Regions from separate parts of the Homo sapiens genome. Here all the other regions are linked to region 6. The links are contacts of gene promoters, found by promoter capture Hi-C in blood cells and fetal thymus (Javierre and others, 2016). All regions are on one chromosome and are shown on one strand. Each heading gives the region's core, a stretch centred on a gene start or on the middle of the fragment in contact. The rest is flanking DNA. Distances are from core to core; before and after follow the strand shown. Region 1 holds the start of NEK1 (NIMA related kinase 1). Region 2 overlaps CLCN3 (chloride voltage-gated channel 3). Region 3 overlaps CLCN3 (chloride voltage-gated channel 3). Region 4 has its middle 8.9 kb from the start of CBR4-DT. Region 5 has its middle 1.5 kb from the start of MFAP3L. Region 6 holds the start of MSMO1 (methylsterol monooxygenase 1). Region 7 has its middle 9.1 kb from the start of HPF1.

What was found. Contacts are between HindIII fragments. The CHiCAGO score rates a contact against its expected background, and 5 or more counts as called.
Region 1: the fragment with the promoter of NEK1 here is called in contact with the fragment with the promoter of MSMO1 in region 6 in 5 of 17 cell types (non-activated CD4 T cells, total CD4 T cells, naive CD8 T cells and 2 more); the score reaches 11.9 in non-activated CD4 T cells.
Region 2: a fragment that was not itself captured here is called in contact with the fragment with the promoter of MSMO1 in region 6 in 4 of 17 cell types (non-activated CD4 T cells, total CD4 T cells, erythroblasts and 1 more); the score reaches 12.0 in non-activated CD4 T cells.
Region 3: a fragment that was not itself captured here is called in contact with the fragment with the promoter of MSMO1 in region 6 in 1 of 17 cell types (naive CD8 T cells); the score reaches 5.0 in naive CD8 T cells.
Region 4: a fragment that was not itself captured here is called in contact with the fragment with the promoter of MSMO1 in region 6 in 5 of 17 cell types (total CD4 T cells, total CD8 T cells, activated CD4 T cells and 2 more); the score reaches 10.4 in total CD4 T cells.
Region 5: a fragment that was not itself captured here is called in contact with the fragment with the promoter of MSMO1 in region 6 in 9 of 17 cell types (total CD8 T cells, activated CD4 T cells, total CD4 T cells and 6 more); the score reaches 20.9 in total CD8 T cells.
Region 7: a fragment that was not itself captured here is called in contact with the fragment with the promoter of MSMO1 in region 6 in 2 of 17 cell types (total CD8 T cells and naive B cells); the score reaches 5.2 in total CD8 T cells.

What each region holds. Positions count from the first base shown.
Region 1 is chr4:169,611,128-169,613,963 of GRCh38, forward strand. It overlaps NEK1 (NIMA related kinase 1), which reads right to left and starts at 1,456. Exons shown (of 36, transcript NM_001199397.3): 1 at 1,095-1,456; 2 at 893-1,016. RefSeq lists enhancers at 929-1,048, 1,469-1,528. The HindIII fragment of the contact is 11,256 bases long and covers 1-2,836 here.
Region 2 is chr4:169,631,630-169,634,420 of GRCh38, forward strand. The region is part of intron 1 of CLCN3 (chloride voltage-gated channel 3); the gene reads left to right. Among named protein-coding and RNA genes, the nearest start is that of CLCN3, 12 kb to the left of the region's middle. The HindIII fragment of the contact is 6,464 bases long and covers 1-2,791 here.
Region 3 is chr4:169,667,930-169,670,629 of GRCh38, forward strand. All of the region lies in intron 2 of CLCN3 (chloride voltage-gated channel 3), which reads left to right. Among named protein-coding and RNA genes, the nearest start is that of CLCN3, 49 kb to the left of the region's middle. The HindIII fragment of the contact is 970 bases long and covers 921-1,890 here.
Region 4 is chr4:169,018,005-169,020,723 of GRCh38, forward strand. No RefSeq gene overlaps it. Among named protein-coding and RNA genes, the nearest start is that of CBR4-DT, 8.9 kb to the left of the region's middle. RefSeq lists an enhancer at 1-207. The HindIII fragment of the contact is 5,591 bases long and covers 1-2,719 here.
Region 5 is chr4:170,026,537-170,029,236 of GRCh38, forward strand. It overlaps a transcript of MFAP3L not described here. Among named protein-coding and RNA genes, the nearest start is that of MFAP3L, 1.5 kb to the left of the region's middle. RefSeq lists silencers at 1-236, 695-764 and enhancers at 236-955, 945-1,084. The HindIII fragment of the contact is 1,823 bases long and covers 376-2,198 here.
Region 6 is chr4:165,326,018-165,328,972 of GRCh38, forward strand. It overlaps MSMO1 (methylsterol monooxygenase 1), which reads left to right and starts at 1,652. Exons shown (of 6, transcript NM_006745.5): 1 at 1,652-1,747. RefSeq lists a silencer at 1,251-1,590 and an enhancer at 1,681-1,950. The HindIII fragment of the contact is 2,277 bases long and covers 208-2,484 here.
Region 7 is chr4:169,765,557-169,768,448 of GRCh38, forward strand. No RefSeq gene overlaps it. Among named protein-coding and RNA genes, the nearest start is that of HPF1, 9.1 kb to the left of the region's middle. The HindIII fragment of the contact is 1,359 bases long and covers 665-2,023 here.

The DNA of each region.
Region 1 (2,836 bases), core at 206-2,705, 4.3 Mb after region 6:
TTAGACTAGAAGGCAGGAGATTAGACAGGGCAAAATTTACTTGGAATACAATGTCAATGTACTATTCACACGACCTCAAAAGAACTTCTGTGGTCAAGTCCGACGACCTTTATTAAATTCCTGACAGTGACTTTTAACGTGAAAAAAACCTGTTTTCCCACAAAATAGGCTCCTTACATTTCACCTAGAACAATGGATATTTTAAGTGAAACAGATCTGTAGAACCTCTAAAACCAGACAAATGTAAACTAGAAACAAGGAGTTACTTCTCTCCAAATTTGGCTCCCCTCCATCAGCTCTACAATACTGCTGCATCATAAAAAAAGGTCATTAACTTAGATTGGATGCCACTTTTAATCCTTCATAAACATTTCTAATGAAACATACCAAGGCAATAAAAAATATTTCTGCTTCCTAAAGCAGATCTTAAAGAACAAAAAATAGGCCTGCAAAAAAAGTTATGATAAACTCTTAAAGTAGTACAACAATTAATGCCTTACATATGGAAACTGTGTCAAATCATGGAAACAGAAATCTAAGATTACAGGGTAACCAGCTAACTACTACTCATATTCGCTTCCTAATTAAAATTTATCAGTAATTTAAGATTGGACACAACATAAGCAATGCAAATGCTTGCTTATCCATACTAAGATTCCTATTATTTTAATCCCATTACCGCTCTAGTTTTTAAAAATACCGTAATGTCCAAGAATCGCTTTGTTAATACAGAGTGTCTTAGAGAATTAACATTTAAATGAGATTAAGGTATTTTCCCTGCAAACACTTAAGGTATCTGTGTAATCTCAATATAAGCAGTTCTACGCACATCTCATTTCCAGGATGATTTTTACCATTTTGCATGTCATTCCTTCCCCCAAGTGGAACTCACCTCAGTGACACAGGACGTTAGTAGGAATAACGGTGATGACTAATAAGCATCAGTCTAGGTGTGGCAGTCTTCCTACGGGGCTTAATAAAGCAGAGGTACCATCCCGCATTTTGAAAATGACATCCTGAAAGAGAAACCAAGACTGTCTAACCAGCAGCAGCTCACAGTCCAGACTGAAAGGGGGCACTGAGACTCTCCACACCTGACACTCGTCTTCAGTTGATACCACGGGTTTGACTCCGTCCTGTCTCGGGCGACGCCCGTAAGACAGGTCGACACTACCCCGACGAAACAAACAAACTGGTTTCTGAGCCCCGTAGAAACGGCGGGGTGCAGCAGGGGGAGTGCCTCCGTTACCGCCTCTCCAACTTCACAGAGGTCGTTGCTAGTGGCCACGGCGGGGTGGGGACGGGCGGCGTTCGGGACTGGGAAGCTACTTGACTGCCACGTGCTCCTGCCTCGCAACAGCGGCTCTAGATTCCGAGTTATGGGGACAACTGCTCGAGAGGCCAGGGTAGGGTAAGGACTCCGCAACCTAGGGTCCCAAAACCCTGGAGCGAATGCGGACTAAGGGAGAGCGGCCGGCGCGTCACCGGCGCTGGCGTGTGACGTCAGCGCGTGGAAGGCGGCACGCAGCGGAGGCGGCTGGGAAGGAGCAGTGAGGCTGGGCTAGAACCGTAGGGTCGGGCGGGGTGCTGTGCGAAGGGGCGGGCGGGGTGCTGTGCGAAGGGACGGGAGGGGCGGGCTCTGCAGGCGGGAAGACAGAAAGGACGAGACGGGAGAGATGAAAAGGATGGAGAGAGTGTAAAGCTGTTAAGAGTCATGCAGAGATGCGGGAGAGAACTCACTAGTTGAAACCAATTTGGAATATAAAGCATATAAAATTTTCCCACAGCTACTACACCGAGAAAGGGACTTTTTTATTTTACATGAAAGCGCACTACTTAGGGATGCCACATTTTAAAGAGCAATTTTGCTTTAAAAAGCAAGTCTTTTCCTATTATATCTTGGATGGTTGAAACAGAAGAATGTTTAAGTCTTGAGATATTTTTAAAAAGCTGTATGGGGTTTTCTACACCTTTACATCTAATGTATGTATAAATTACTTGTCTGTATGTTGAAGGGTTTGGAAATGTACAGCAGTCTAAGTACATTTTTTCACTGCAGGACTGGCGAAGGTAGGAAGAGATTCCCCTAAAACTATAATAAGGGATATCATCTGGCGTCATCCTGAGTGGCCCTACTCAGGGCAACTTTATTCCTAGGGACATTGAAAGATTTTGGCGGCTTTGCCAGACGATGGCGCTGCAAGTCACCCAACCTGAAAAGCTGGAGAGTTTGTTTTATCTCCTCTTCAATCGCCATACAGCTACAAAAGACTTATTTTCCTCATTCTTTCTACTTCTAGTCTACACTCCTGTGGGCCCTCCTACCCCCAGTTAGTAGGAATTATCATGTCTGAATGCACAATTGTAGTTCTACCCACATCCTTTTGTACATCAAAGTGAAGTGAAATGTTGCCAATTACTAATCTAAGCAAATTCTTTTTGCTGCTTACAGGAAGAATGGCTAGTCAGCTAACCTCCTTAGATAATTCTTTAGGCTCATGTCATAAACTATTGGTAGGACTACAAACTGCTACAGTCTTTCTAGAAGGTATGCTAGCAGTATGCATATCCTTTGACTCAGCAATTTAACTTCTGGAACAAGTGAGCAATGATTTATATACAAGGATAACCGTTATTGTTTATAACCAGAAAAACTAGAAATACTGTAAATGTATAACAATAAAGAATTGATTAAATTATAATATATCCAAACAATGAAATACTCTAAAGCCATTTAAAAGAGTAATCAAGATCTACTTTATTGACATACAAAGATACCATTGATATATTGATGAGTAAATAAAGCAGGTTACCTAAGAAGATTACCTGATTTCCC
Region 2 (2,791 bases), core at 229-2,728, 4.3 Mb after region 6:
ATTGTTTGCTTCTTGTAGATTGTAGATATTAGACCTTTGTCAGACGTTAGCTAGATTAACAGAGAAAGAGACAAGATCCAAATCACCACACAATCAGAAACAACAAAGGTGACATTACAACCAATCCCATGGAAATACAAAAGATCCCCAGAGACTATTATGAACACATCTGTAAACACGAACTAGAAAATCTAGAGGAAATGGGTAAATTCTGGAAACAGCCTCCCAAGATTAAATCAGGATGAAATTGAAATCCTGAACAGACCAATATCGAGTTCCAAAATGGAATCGGTAATAAAAAATCTACCAACCAGAAAAGCCCTGGACCAGATGTATTCATAGCTGAATTCTATCAGATGTACAAAGAAAGCTGGTACCAATTCTACTGAAACGACTCCAAAAAATGAGGAGGGGCTCCTCCTTAACTCATTCCAGCTTCACCCCGATACCAAAACCTGGCAAAGACACAATGAAAAAGGAAAAGTACAGGTCAATATCCCTGATGAACATAGATGTAAAAACCTTCAACAAAATATTAAGAGAGTGAGTTGTTAAAGAGAAGAGGGTATGATCCAGGCAGAGGGAGCAACAAAGGCCTTGGGGCAGGAGTCAGGAAAGAGCTTGATAGGACTGAGAGATTGAAAGATCAGTGAGTCTAGAGTACTTCAGGAAGTACATACTTCTCAAAGTAAGATATACAACTGGCCAACAAGCATGTGAAAAAATGCTCAACATCACTAATGATTAGCGAAATGGAAATCAAAACCACAGTGAGACACCATCTCACGCCAGTCAGAATGGCTATTAAAAGAAGCTGGGGCCAGGCGCGGTGGCTCAGGCCTGTAATACCAGCAATTTGGGAGGCCGAGGCGGGCGGATCACGAGGTCAGGAGATTGAGACCATGGTGAAACCCCGTCTCTACTAAAAACACAAAAAATTAGCCGGGCGCAGTGGCGGGCGCCTGTAGTCCCAGGTACTCGGGAGGCTGAGGCAGAAGAATGGCCTGAACCCAGGAGGCGGAGTTTGCAGTGAGCAGCGATCGCGCCACTGCACTCCAGCCTGGGTGACAGAGCGAGACTCCATCTCAAAAAAAAAAAAAAAAAAAAAAAAAAGTGCTGGGGAACTAGCAGGGGTTGGGCTGCATAGAACTTTTTCTGCTATATTAAAGAGTTTGTTTCTTAAGGGTAGCAGGAAATGATTAAGAGATGTTAACATGGAATGGAGAGAGATTATGAGCAAACTTACTTTTTGGAAAAAAAAACTGTGCTGGCTGCAGTGTCATCAGATTCGAAGGAAGCAAAATAATTGCACGTAGATAATATAGGAATTTATTAGGTAAACGAGGCCTTATTACTGGAAGTTTTCATAGTTTATCTCTGATTATTATTATTACTTTGTTTGAGACAGAGTCTCACTCTGTTTCCCAGGCTGGAGTGCAGTGGCATAATCTCAGCTCACTGCAACTGCCGCCTCTCTGGCTCAAGCGATTTTCATGCCTCAGGCTCCTTAGTAGCTGGGGTTACAGGCGGCTGCCACCACGCCCGGCTAATTTTTTATTTTTAATAGAGATGGGGTTCACCACCATGGCCAGGTGGGTCTTGAGCTCTTGACCTCAAGCGATCCAGCTGCCTCGGCCTCCCAAAGTGCTGGAACTACAGGCATGCGCCACCACACCCAGCTTATCTCTAATTTTTATAATTTTGTAAGAATATATTTACAAGCTACTGTGTATCTATTACAATGTTTTGAAATGATTATAAGTATATTTTTGGTGATTAAAATGGAAAAGGTGACTTTGCATTATTTTTTTTAAATATGTAAAATTTCATCTGCTGTGTTAGAGTCTAAATAGCCTTTTGTGCCCAAGCCTGGGAATTGGGTTTAGAACCTGAAAATATTTAACACTAGTGTTCAGATTTCCTTCTGTTATATGTCCTTTATGCTACTATAGAAATTTGAATATTTTATAGCAGTGCTGTTCAATAAAAGTGTTAGTGCTGCAAATGCAAGCCACATAGGTAATTTTTAATTTTTCAGTAGCCACATTAAAAAGGTAAAAAGAAAGTGGTGAGATTCATTTCAAATATATTTTATTTAACCCAATGGATCTAAAATATTTCAACATGTAATCAGTATAAAATTTCTAGTCAAATATTTGACATCCTTTTTAAATATTAAGTCTTAGAAATCTGGTAGGTATTTTACACTTAGAGCACATTTCAGTTTGGACCAGCCATGTTTCAATGGCTCGATAGCCGTATGTATGCTGGCTGCTGCATCAGTCAGTACAGCTCTATAGGTTTCTGGGTTAATACGTGGAATAGTTTTTTTTTTTTATCTTAAGTTATCAAATTTATAGAAATAGAAACCCATGCAGGCCTGGGTTTAATTGGTTTATTTGGAGCAGAGTTGCATGCTTGTGTTACAAAGAATGATCTGCAGGCTAGGTGTCTCAAAGGTATTATGAAATTAATTTTTTTAACGGAAATAGTTAAATTTCCAGTTACCACTTACGATTTTTGAGAGACTTTTAGGGATAAAATGGAGGAGATATATTGGAATTTGCTGATTGAAGTATTAACACATAAAAAGGTTTAATGATTTTACAGAGATTTCTTAGTGCTGTGTAGCCTCTAGCTAATGTTCACTGAAATGTTATCATATGTATTAAGCCCTTCTATTCTGTAAAGAAATAAAAACAGAGTGTCTGTGTTCTTCACAAAAATCTTAGCATACATGCTTTGATACATCAAAATTAAATGATTCTTAAGCTATTAATGTTTATGTTTT
Region 3 (2,700 bases), core at 156-2,655, 4.3 Mb after region 6:
GGGGTTTCACCATATTGGCCAGGCTGCTCTTGAACTCCTGACCTCGTGATCCACCTGCCTCAGCCTCCCAAAGTTCTGAGATTACAGGTGTGAGCCACCGCGCCCGGCCAGACATTTTTTTTTTTTTTTTTTTTTTTGCTGTCTTTGTCATATTGTTAGTCTTTTGGTTAAGCGATATTATAACTTAGTCATATGAGTAATATAATGCAACATGCTGAATTGTGTGTGTGAGAGGGGGTTGTTTTTTGTTTGTTATTTGTTTTTTAAATAGAGATGAGATCTCACTGTGTTTCCCAGGCTCCCTTGAACTCCTGGGCTCAGATGATATAGCCTCCTGCCACAGCGTCCTGATTAGCTGGGACTACAGGTGTGCACCACTACACGTGGCTTTCCTGATGAAATTTTAAATACCCAAATATTTGAGCAGAAATAATAGCTTGTGTTTATTGTTTTTCTACTATCTGTCAAGTATAGTATTAAATGTTTTACATAATTTGTCTCCAGTCCACATACAATACTCTAGTAGAAGTGGGTAACAAAACCAAGGTACTCAAAGAGGTTAATAAGTAACTTGCGCTGGATCACAGAACTAACGGGAGGCAGGGCTGGAATTTGACTCTAGGTCTTTCTGACCTCAAAGTGCAGTAAAGTCATGGAATTTCTCTACTAGGCCACCTGGAAGAAAAGTGATCTTTTTTCCAGTCTTTTTTGTTACTGTTTTTCAGCCAGGAGATAGTAGAGTTAGGTAGTAGAATAGTAGTCACTGGCATCCGGTAGTCAGCCCTCCAAAAAAGTTTTTGATTTTTTTTTTTTTTTGTCTTAAACTTGGAAGCTACTAACTTTCAGGTCATACTTTCTTATCATCCAAGAGCTGGATATTTAGGTAGCAGAAACTATGGAATTATCCTAAGTCCTCTTGAAGCTTCAGCTGTTAAAATTAATTGGTTCTGATTAACACTGTGCTCAAGATTTACATTTCTAGGAGCCACAGTTTGATTGGTCTAACTTGGATCTATGTGTTTTCTTTAGCTGGGGAGGAGAAGGTATCTTGATTGATACCTTCACCAGGACTGCATGCAGTGAGGGACAGAAGTTTCCTTAAAATAATTGGGTTCTGTTATAGGAAGAAGGGGAAGGAGATACCAAGTGGGCAAAACAATCAGGTTCTATTACATAAATAATAAACCTAATGTGACGATAATAAATGGATAATATGATTATTTTAAGTTTGGAAATATACCTGGTTATTAGTATTGGATATCTGGTAGTGGGGTTGGAGAAAAAGTCGAGAATAAGAAAAGACTTAAAATCGTAAAAATTAACTGGAAAAGAGGATGGCTGAGCAGATACATATATGTTAGATAATGTTCATAATGGCAAACCAACCTGAAGATTTGTTTAAATTGTAGTATGTAGCCAGGTGTGGTGGTGCTTGCCTGCAGTCCCAACTACTTGGGAGGCTGAGGCAGGATGATTGCTTGAGCCTAGGTTTGAGGCTACAGTGAGCTATGTTTCCACCACTGCTTTCCAGCCTAGGTGGCAGAGCAAGACCCCATCTCTAAAAAAATAAAGTAAAATGAATAAATTATAATATGTTATGACAAATATAGTTATCTGAAGTCACAGAAAATGTGCATGTGCATTTAATGATGTGAAATAATTTTTAGGAAGTATGAATAAAAAAATCAACTTTTAAGTGTGGCTAGTATGATCTTACCTGTATCTCACTTATAGAAAATATAAAAGGCTGAAGCCAGTCACCAGTTTAATAGTTCTAACCTCTTGTTTACTTGATTCCCTTTTTTCTCCTCCCCAGCAATCCTCATATAGTTAGGTAAAGTTGGTTCTTCATCAGGCTTGTTGCAGAAACCCCTAAGCCTTTTTACTTAAAGCTTTTTGAAACCCAGAAACCCATCTTTTGAATTCAAAAGTTTTGACTGTTATTAGTCTTTTTGTATGTTTGTTGGCCGCATAAATGTCTCCTTTTTATGAACAGAGAAGTGTCTGTTAATATACTTTGCCCACTTTTTGATGGGGTTGTTTGTTTTTTTCTTGTACATTTGTTTAAGTTCCTTGTAGATTCTGGATATTAGACCTATGTCAGATGGATAGATTGCAAAAGTTTTCTCCCATTCTGTAGGTTGCTTGTTCATTCTGATGATAGTTTCTTTTACTGTGCAGAAGCTCTTTAGTTTAATTAGATCCTATTTGTCTGTTTTGGCTTTTGTCGCCATTGCTTTTGGTGTTTCAGTCATGAAGTCTTTGCCAGTGCCTATGTCCTGAATGGTATTGCCTAGGTTTTCATGGTTTTGGGTTTTACATTTAAGCCTCAAATCGATCTTGAGTTAATTTTTGTATAAGGTGTAAGGAAGGGGTCCAGTTCCAGTTTTCTGCATATGGATAGCCAGTTTTCCCAGCACCATTTATTAATATTAAATAGGGAATCCTTTCCCCATTACTTGTTTTTGTCAAGTTTGCTGAAGATCAGATGATTGTAGATGTGTGGTGTTATTTCTGAGGTCTTTGTTCTGTTCCGTTGGTCTGTATATGTGTTTTGGTACCAGTACTATGCTGTTTTGGTTACTGAGCCTTGTAGTATAGTTTGAAGTCAGGTAGTATGATGCCTCCAGCTTTGTTATTTTTGCTTAGGATTGTCTTGGCCATACGGGCTCTTTTTTGGTTCCATATGAAATTTAAAGT
Region 4 (2,719 bases), core at 79-2,578, 3.7 Mb after region 6:
GACCCACTTTATTTACTAATCACACAGTTGAAAATGGCTGAGCCCCATAGGACTTTTCAGTTCAAGGGATTAAACTCTGACTCCCTTTGTTCAAGACAGAGAATTGGATTGGTTGTTAATGAGGGGATAGATTAGCGCCTGTGGAGAGCAGTTCTCGGGGGAGGCAGGTTGCCATGTGAGTGAGTGGGGTGCTCAAAGGCGGAAGGTGCACCCGCAGCCAAGCACCATTGCCACAGGGGCTCAGTGTGGGCGGCCTTATTAAAGGAGGCTTGGCTGGGCATGTGCTCCCCAGCAGATCAGATACACCATACAAGCAGCATCCCCCTAGGGGATCTTTGCTCAAAATAAGCTCTGTTTTAAATGCAACATGTACACCATTTAGTCTCCTTAACAGACTACTGCCTTTTTCTCTTTTTCAAATATTATTAGCTGAGCTCAATGCCCCATGAAATCTGTAAATGTTTTGTTCCAAGTAACCAGTAGTGAGTCCCAGAACCAGCACCCAACATATAATAATATGAAGAGAAATGGAAGAGGAGGTGATAATGTATGAGGAGAGAGATACGAATTTTTAAGAAGTGAAACAGACACCAATCCTATAAGGAATATGAATCAGTCCCCTCTGGCAAGTAATACTCATAATTTGCTTAACTTACTGAGTTGAGGAGTACATATTTATGGGTCCCTATATAACCTATGAGTGGGAAAAAATGGGCCAAAATTCACCTTATTTTTAAAAATGACATATTAATTTATTTGGCTAATTTACTAGGCTAGCCATTAAACCACAATAATTTTAAATAAATGAGTATAAAGTAGATGATCCTTAACCAAAACTATGGAATGTATCCTTTTTCCCTTCTACTAAATAGAGATGGAATAAATCAGTTGAAAAGAATTGGCTTAGAAGGTGACAGAGGCCTGGCACCATGGCTCACGCCTGTAATCCCAACACTTCAGGAGGCCAAGGTGGGAAGATCACTTGAGCTCAGGAGTTTGAGACCAGCCTGGGCAACACAGAAAGACCCTGTGTCTACAAAATTAAAATTGAAAAATTATCTGTGTGTAGTGGTGCGTGCCTGTGGTCCTAGCTCCTTGGGAGACTAAGGTGGGAGGATTGCTTGAGCCCAAGAGGTCTAGGCTGCAGTCAGCTGTGACCATGCCACAGCACTCTAGCCTGGGTGACAGACAGAGACCCCCTGTCTCCAAAAATAAAAAAAGTGACAGATGACAACATGAATACTTTTCATTCACAACATACACTCTAACTGTTTCAGGCAAAATTCCATAAATATATATAAAACTGGCAATATAGCATCATATATAACTCTGGGTTTAGTCTACTGAATTTGAATTCTGGCTCTACCACAAGCTGTGTAATCTTGGGCAAGTTATTAAACTCTCTGGGTTAAGATTTCTTTATGCAAAAAATAGGGAAAATAATACTGGCATGAGGTTATTGACAGCCATAAGATAGGTTGATCCTATATAAAATACTTAGCACGATGCCATCGCCTTACAATTATTAATAATTAGTAGCACCTCCTTTCAATAGGAAATAGGCATTCTGGACTTATGCATCAGACAGCCATAGTTTAGCCATCACTATTGAGAGACTTGCCTTATATTATTATTCTGGTTTCTCAGGTCAGAAAACATTTTCTTCTGTTTTTGTTTTTCTTCTGATATTCCTTACTTCTTGTATCTCACACAAAATATGTCAGTCACAATTCTGGGTCTGGCATGGTGGCTCATGACTATAAGCCCAGCACTTTGGGAGGCCGAGGTGGGTGGGTCACTTCAGGTCAGGAGTTTGAGACCATCCTGTCCAACATGGTGAAACCTTGTCTCTACAAAAAAATACAAAAATTAGCCGGGCATGGGGCACGTGCCTGTAATCCCAGCTACTCAGGAGGCTGAGGCAGGAGAATCACTTGAACCCAGGAGGCGGAGGTTGCAGTAAGCTGAGATCGCACCACCGCACTCCAGCCTGGGTAACAGAGCAAGACTCCATCTCAAAAAAATAATAATAATAAAAGTAAATAAATCAATAAATTCTGGCTTCTAACTTCCATTTCTTTCAAATCAATGTATTAAAAATATATATCTGAGGTCTGAGGGTTCAACCTGAACAAGTTTATTTATTTGTAAAAGATTATCCTCAAATATATTTCTAAAGTTCCAGTCCTCAGAATAACATAATAAAGCGTATTTCCCTGTTAGCATCTATTACATCCTCATTTTCCTTTTTAGCACAAGTCTGGACTTATGTGGAATTCTGGGAGACGTTTTGAAGCTATTGATGAAGTGGTGAATCCAACAGAAATAGATACACATGCAAAGCAGTGTGTATTGGACATGAATCACCATAGGGGTGTCTCATCCTCATCGTATCTATGAAGAAGAGATGTTAACACACACCAGCCTAACAGCAATAGCATAGATGACACAGGGAAGACATGGAATGTTTTTCTTTCCTCTCGCTTTGTTTTATTTTTTATTTTTGTCTTATTTATTTATTTATTTATTCAAGATAGGATCTCGCTCTGTCACCCAGGCTGGAGTGCAGTGGCTCAATCTTGGCTCACTGTAGCCTTGACCTCCTGGGCTCATACAGTCCTCTCATCTCAGCCTCCCAAATAGCTGGGACCTCAGGCGCATGCCACCATGCCTGGCTAATTTTTTTGTATTTTTTTGTAGAGATAGGATCTCACTATAT
Region 5 (2,700 bases), core at 37-2,536, 4.7 Mb after region 6:
GGCGGTGCGGCGCGAGCCAGTCGGTGCTGCGGAGCGGCCCCGCGGAGGAGCCACCGGAGGCTGTAGTTGCCGGGGAGTCCCGCATTCAGTCCGCTCAGCCTCTGGGCCGGGCCTCGGCGGCCCCCAGAGCCCCACACCCGCAGGCCCAGGGCCTCCGCGGCAGCGCGGGACTCTCACTCCGCTCTCTCTCCCGCCCGGGGCTTCCACCGCAACTTCTGTGGGCGTCGCATCGCACGCGTGTTCAAGGACACCCAGGAAAAGGCTTCTTAGGGTCCCATCCTGGGGCGCTAAATGGGAACCAGTCAACCCACCCCCAAGCCTACCCTGTCTCCTTGCAATCAAATGCAATCACGAGCAAACCACCTTGCTTCCGAAAGCTTCTCAGGCCTTCCCGGGCGACTGCGCTGTAAGTCTTAAACGTCTCTTAAAGCAAAGTCCACAGATGGAAGAGTCTGGAAAAAAACCCAGCGGGCCGTTCCCTGGTGACTTTCTGAGTGGTGGGGTTCCAGGAATTTTTTTTTCATTTTCTTTAAAAATATTATTTGTAATTTCCACGTTTTTTCTAATGAACCATAAGTTGATTTTTTAATTAAAAAGTAGAGTACTCTAAAATTATTAAGTACCTACAGAAGTTTCGCTACACGATCCTGCAATGTTAGTGGCTTCTTCTCCTCCTTATCTCCCTTTTTTTTTTTTTTTTTTTAATTTTAAAAGAGAACAGAGACTCTCAATTTCTGGGGCGGGACCAGGCTCCTTCCCCCGGCTTTTTAGTGCCCGCCCTCTTGGCCACACCCCACTCCGGCCTTTTTACTCCCGTACCGCCCTCTTCCCGGTGGGTTGCTGCGAAAACCCGGAAAGGTGGACTTTCCACATTGACGCTCCCGGCGGCTCCGGCAGCCAGACTGGGCATGTTCCGCCGCCGGGTCAGGCATTGCTGTGCCAAGAGAGGAGCTTTAGCAACTCTCAGTCTCTCTGCTCCTCTCTGTTCCTGGCAAACTGGCAAAGTAGTGCCTCTGACCCCACGCCCCGAGGTCGGACCTGCAGAAGTGGGTCAGGACCCGACTGAGCATGCTCCGGGCAGTGCCAGGCTGCCGCACGCGGCTGCATCTGGTTGCCCAAGGTTGATGTAGCCGCGGTCTCTCGTCACGACATCGAAGCTCGGGAAACGGATGGAAGCAGGGCTCTAGAGAGGCACGATTGCATCGACACGTGGGCAGGTCGCCCATGCCAAGGGCCATGTTGGTGGGTGGGTGCGTGGGATCTGTCGTATGAGTGAGTCAAAGCCTGATTTTTTCCCCCAAAAAGATTGAAATGAGATATCATATTTTAACATTAGTTTTATGGCATCTTGAATAGCAACACATTTTAGCTCAAGGAATTTTTCAGCTGTCCTTTTGAGAAACGTAAATTTTCTTTGTTTTTAAGTATTTAATAAGCATTCTTTACAATTGCACCACAGCGCGAACTTTCCACCTGCTTTATTAATTATGACATTTGTGTCCCCACTATTAAAATATTCCGCAGTATTATATCCCGTTTTCTTCTCCAGCATTTCTGCATTCACTCTGACTCTATTTCCTCCCCTCCCCCATCTCTTTTAAATTCTCAGACAACCTGCAAAATGCACTCTTGCTATCTTAGAAACCACTTGAGGTCGGTGTGGGGAACTTGCTTTTAATTCTCATTTAGAGAAGACAGTACTGAAATGGAGAAAAGTCACAGGGAAAGTACTTTTACAGATTGTAGATTAGTAAAGAACCCAAAGAGAGCCTTTCATTGAGAGCAGAAAGGCGAATGGAATTCGCTGTTTTCTGTCTAAGGAGGAGGAGGATGGGCAGGCAGGTCAGCTGCCCAGTGGGGCTTGGTGTGATAGTGGGAGTCACCCTTCATTTGAACCTCTCTGCCTTGCCCAGCTCCAGTTCAGCTTCAGCGTGGTCAGAGACACTATCTCTATGGAAGGTCACTCCTGGAAGAATACATTTACTTAGCTGCTTCCACCATGGAATCCTAGCTTGTGCTGGAGTGTCCCCTTCATCCTCCTCCTGTGCTTTGAGAATCCATTGTTGCTGGTATGCCCTGAGCAGTGCCCTTGAACTTGCCCAGGTACCCCTTGACATCCACACCACAAATAGTCTAGCCTTACAAAGGTGGACAAGATGTCTTTTCAACAGTCTGTACTGCCACTTCCATCCATCTGAAGCTTTCTGTTCCTGAGTCTGTCATGACATTAATCTTTCAAAAATCTTTCACAGAGATTTTTAGTCTCTACTAAAAATACAAAACAATTAGCCAGGCATAGTGGTGTGTGCCTGTAGTCCCAGCTACTTGGGAGGCTGAGGCAAGAGAAGCGCTTGAATCTGGGAGGCAGACGTTGTAGTGAGCAGAGATTGCGCCACTGCACTTCAGCCTGAGCAACAGAGTCAGACTCCATCTCAAAAATAATAAATATATATATATACACACACACACACACAAATAGTATGGATAAAGGGAAGACGCTGACCTATCAGAACAACTGCCTGATCAACCAGAAAGGATTCCAGAAATGAACACCTCGCATGGCCATGTGAGAACATACCAGCTAACACCCCTTTGACAGCGGCAATCATCAGAGAGGATGACAGCTCTCAGGAAGAAGAGACCACAGAACACCTACAATGGGGCGGTGCAAAGGATGAGAATCTGGAGGAGGAGGATGAG
Region 6 (2,955 bases), core at 402-2,901:
GTAGTTTCATCAGTACGAAGGACCTGAAAGGTTATCTCAAAGCACAAACTTAACGTTTCATAATGTTCAAGTTGTTGTCTATAGAGCAGTTAGGGGAAACTATAACCTTGTAACAGAGTCTACATGATTCTGAAGCAATAGGCAAACAATTATGAGGAAGGGGTCAGACAGCAAGCTGACCTAATTATTAATCCTCAGTGTGCTGCAAGCTTGGTTTAATTTCGTTCCCCCCACCCCTTTTTCCCAGATTAACTTCATAAAGTATATAGGCATGGTTTCAGACACCACTGTAAAGGCATCCTAAAGACAGGGCTGACTCTGACAACCAAGGGACAGATCCCATTTCTTTTCATTTGACGTGACCGCTGTCATGATACTTTACAAAGAATGTGTGTGCCAAACATGAGGGATAGACGAATAAGTACAGGTCACACTGAATCTAAAAAAGACACTTTTCAAGAGGGAACTTCCTCAAGGAGATAGTACCTGAATTGATGGGGCGGCATGGAGATGGCTGATTATTCCAGGCAGAAGGGCCAGTTTGAGCAAAAGCATGGAGGAATGAAACAATAGTATTCTGTTTTCAGAAGCTGTATATATTTGACACAATATACACATAATCAAAACATGTGTACGCCGTAAACACAATTTTTGTCAATTATACCTTAATAAAGAAGGAGGAAAAAGGGCCTTCACTAGCCCAAATGATGCCCCTGTGCGGTTTTTTCTTTAAAGGCACCTCTTCCGTTAAGTGAAAGTTTTAGTATATTATCACATCTGTACAGTTTTATTATTAAACCCCAGTACACAATATTTTAATGTTGAGAGATGGTGTAAACTGAGCTTTAGAGCTGCAAAGACCTGCGTCAAGCCCCCGCCCCCGCCCCCGCCCCCGGGCACTCATCGTCCAGCACAACAATTGCAACAACACCTGGGCGTTCTCTGCCCATGTAGCGAGGTCAAGGTCCTGGGAGCCGAACTCTCCCTTGATGTTCAATCTTTTTAAATCTTTCCCAGCCTTTATTTCTCATCTGCAAAATGACGATAATCGCATTTGAAATTCTCCGTTTTCAAAATGCAGGAATTTATTAAAGGATACGTAGGCTGGGGAAACAAGGGAGACGAAAGATCTAAATCTAAATGGTAGACCAGAAAAAGGAAGGCAAGGGTGTCTGGAAACACAAAACAGTCAACATAGATTTTAAGACTCATCTATACTCTCTTCTTCCCGGGTTTGGGAACTGCGGTTGCTACACAGGTCACATTTGAAATAAAAGTCCTGGGACGGCGGCCGGCGCGACACTCTCCCCCGCACAGCGCAGGCTCTCACTGGGAATCTGCCGGGACCGCAGTTGCCAAGGCGACTCCGCGCTGCAGGGCGAGGCGGCCATCCGTCTGTGCCCGCCCCCTCACGCCGTGGCGCGCTCTCACGCTTCCCCGCCTCCGGGCGCTCCGCGGTGCCGACCATTGGCTGGCTCTGCAGGTCTCACTATCCTCACTCCATCCGCGGAGCCAATGGCTGGGACCGCCAGGAGCTCGTTCGCGCGAGTCACACGATGTCGGCAACTGCACAGACCAATCACCGCGCCGAGAAGGCGGGGCGGGAGCTCTCGCAGGCCAATAACGACAGGACGGGCCGCCTGGCCCACCCGGCTCCACCCCCAAGCCAGGCGAGGCAGGTTCCGAGGTTGGAACACCTGGCGAGTCCTCGGTGTCGGTGGCCGGCAGTCATCTCGCGGCCGTTCAGGTGAGGGGGTTGGAGGAGTGGCTCATGAGCGAGGAAGGGGGAGCAGGCGGGCTCCCACCCGGTGCTCCGTGAGATCGAGGGGAGCGGGTTCTGGGTGCGGATGCACGCGCTGGGCGGGACGCTGGCAGTGGTACCCGAGACGGGGCGGAAGGAGACTGGAGTGAAGGTGGGCCTAGGCTAAGGTACGTGCTAGAAAGGATGAAAACGGAGTGAAATTCTTAAGTGATGGAACTAGGCTAGGGCATGTTTCTTGCCCTTTAAAATGTGTTGTCTTCGGGAGACAGGACGTAGAAGATAGTTGCAGCACAGGGTGATAGGCTGGCGAAAGTTATACAAAAGCAGGAACCACTAGAAGGAGGTAAGATGTAGTGTGCTTTGGGAGTAGTGGGGTTGGGAAGGGCGTCCGAGAGGAGGTTACTGAAGGATGACTAGGAGTTGAATGGGAGGACATCACCTGTAAGGGAACGATATTTCCGTGGGCAGAGAGGAATGAAGCAGTAGCAACCATGAGTGATCAGATACTGCAAAAATGTGAAGTGTAGGATGGCGAGAATGTAAGAAATGAAGAGTGAAGAAGTCTGGAAGGGCCTCGTGTGCATCAATCACAGCGGGGCTTGATCTTTATGCTTAGGGCAAGCACTCCCTTGAACTTTGAGTGTTTTAAGGAGGTTATCTCTGATGTTTAAATTTATATAGATCGTGGCATTGCATCTTAGAAATAAGGTTTAGGAAGGGCAAGCTTGGAGGCAGGGCAAGTCCAGAAAATGAAGGAGCTGGTGAAATCCGTGTTAAAGTGCCAAAGGACAGAGACTGGCTGACAGCTAAACTTCAAGGTTTCTGAGAATCCACAAATAACTAAATTTATCTAGTCAACCTGTTCCAGAACAGGCTTCCAGTCATTTAGGTTGCCCAAGAATGAGTAAAGGAAAAGGAAATTCAATTTTCCAAGACCTTGTTTCCCCTCTCCTCTTTAATTCCTTGTTCGGTTAGCAACAGTATATCCATTCCCTCGCTCCTTTGTGAAAAGTAAATTCCTGAATGTTAACTAAACCAAGTGTTTCTAAATTGGGTAAGAGTTTGAAGACTTAAGGCAGCAGAATGGGAGAGACTTAAAACGTTATGTCTGAGAATTAGGCATTAAAGGAGGCCTAGTATTTGGGCGGGGGTTGTGAGGAGCACATACTGAACCTTTGGACCTGTTGAGTGAG
Region 7 (2,892 bases), core at 94-2,593, 4.4 Mb after region 6:
AGGCAGGAGAATCACTTGAACCTGAGAAGCAGAGGCTGCAGTGAGCCGAGATCCCACCACTGCACTCCAGCCTGGGCAACAGAGCAAGACTCTGTCTCAAAAAAAAAAAAAAAAAGAGAATATTTTTACAAGTTTTTTCTTTTTTTTTCAATCTTTGTGCACTTTGAAGGCCATAGATGTCATAGCTAGCTTCTTAAGCATTTCTTTCTGCCTTTGTTATGAGAGCTGCTGAAAATTAAAGACAAGACAAGATGCCACTTAGGATCCCAGGACTTGAGAGTGTAGCCAGACATTCAGCATTAACGTGTATTCAGGGCAGAATAACCACATAGAGCAGCACATGTGTAAGGAATTACAGGCTTATCCAATTGAATTTCTAAGGTTCTAAATGATGGAAGTCATTCACTCTGGCAGTCAGGATTGAGCTGAGTCCTGTGACTCACGCTGTTGGCCAACCCTGGAGGATAAATCAGCTTTGAGAAGGCCCAGAGCCCCCATAGCCTTATGATTCTGATTCCCAAATAGGCTGTAAAATAGGACTTCTTTTAGGGGCTATTCATAGCAGGGGGACCTAATTTGGGAGATATGGGTGATTGTATTGCAGAAGAAACAGATTTGGGAAGGATAAACTTTTTTTCTAATTTGCTGTATAAAAGTTAGCAGAAGCTTCAGGCAGAGCTGATCCTAGACAATTGTTATTGATGGGCTGCAAATGAGCTGTAGCATTAATCTTTGACACTGCACTCTTGGCCTTACCTTTGGCCACTTTGACTCTGGCAAATTATACAGCTAAATGGTGGTGAAACTGGTCTGCCCAATTATGCTTAATCCAGATCAGTTACTCTGGGACCATGTAACCCTTAATTAGCACTAGTTGGATGATCCAAACACATCTTTGAAAGGCCCCAGAGGTTCTCCAGTCTTCATATTTACAGTGGATGAAAATTCCAGCTGATTCGCCAATTCTTTTCCTACCACAATTTCTTAGAATCTAGCTCTGAGCACAAACTGGCACATAATGGGTGCTCAGTAAATATTAATTGGCTTATCGACCTCTTTAATGAATAGCAGTCACCATCATTAAATAGTTACTTGCCCATCCTTTCATCCATTCAGTTATTTGTTCATTCAGAACATTTATTAAGTCCCAATTATGTGTCAGAACTATGTTAGGCACTGAAAAGACCAAGATGACACAGTTGCTATGTTCCAGGAGCTTATAGTGTACTGAGGAGTCCTATAAATGTACAGTCAGTATTCCTGCTAGTCACATAGAAGCAGTGTAAGAATTATGTAAGTCTTTATCACACTCCAACCTTCCAGACACATTGCTCCAGAGTAGTCTCTTTAAAAGAATTGATCTAATCATTTTACTCTGTGACTATCACAGAGTTGATCAGAGCAAAAATTCTGAACGACTAGTGTTACCACCAGGAAATAAGAAGTGACACAACAAAGGGCGATATGGTAGAGAGCAAGCTCAGGTAATATGAGGAGTTTGCGAGGTGATGTTACAAGGGAACATCAAAAGCAGCAACTGAGATCAAGATTGTGGAAAATAGCCAAGGAAACAGGAGCTGGGAATGTAGGGAGCAGTTACTAGAAGGATCCAACAGGATATTACTATTGAGTAATTGCCTTGTATAAGGTCATTCTCCTCACCTTCCAAGTTATGTGTTTAATTTCTGAATATAAAGTTATACTTAATTTTAGGGCTGGGTGCAGTGGGTTATTCCTGTAATCCCAGCACTTTGGGAGGCTGAGGTGGGAGGATCACTTAAATCCAGGAGTTTGAGACCAGTCTGGGCAACATAGCAAGACCCTGTCTCTATAAAAAGTAGTAATAATTTTAGAAAATTTGAATACTATCTAAAAATAAAAAGAAAATTAATTATATTATGCCACCTAGATGTAGCCTCAGACAATATTTGGTATATTCAGTATTTTTCTACATGTATCTTATTATAGTTTGTTAAATGAAATAATGCTGCACATAAAATTTGGTAATAGGCCTTAAAAAGTAAGCTTAATAACAAATAAACATTGTAAAAATGCTTCATCAATATTTTAATGGCTACATAAATATGCCATTGGACAAATGTTTGATAAAGTAACTGTTCTCGTAGTTATAAGTTTTTACTGTGTGTCATAACTTTTTATTGCTATGTATAACCCTGTGGTCAACATTTTTGTACATAAGGTTTTAAAAAATATTTTGGAATATTACCTTAGTTTAAATTCTTAGAGGAACTGCTGGCTTCACAGACAGGAATAAACTTAGTGTCATAATCCATATTCCCAAATTGCTTTGTAAACAAGGCAGTCTGAAATTGAACAAAACAATGTACCACATTGTGACTACAGTTAAGAATATTGTATTGCATATTTAAAATTTGCTAGGAGGGCAGATCTTACATGTTCTAACCACATACACACACAAAGGTACTGTGTGAGGTGATGCTATGTTAATTAGCTTGATTATGGTGATAATTTCACAAAAATATATGTATATTAAAACATCAAGTTGTACACCTTAACTATATAGAATTTTTATTTGTCAATTATATCTCAATAAGGTGGGGGTGGGGAAGGAGAGTAAAATAAAAACGTTTTAAAATAAATAAATAAACAGAGACAAAATAAAAAGAGCATATGTTATTTTCCCATTGGCATGAGTTAAGGGCACTGCTGCTTGGGAATAACCTACACATGGTAGGATAAAAAAGTCAGGGCTTATCTGATTTATCTCCATTCTACTTGTCTTCAGCCCCTTCAGAGTTATAACCTGAAGGTCAGGTTTTACAAAATGCATTGGACGAAAGATTGGCAAACCCAGGTTCTAGTCCCATCCTTGCATTTGTCTGCTCAGAAATCTTGAGCAATCACTCAATT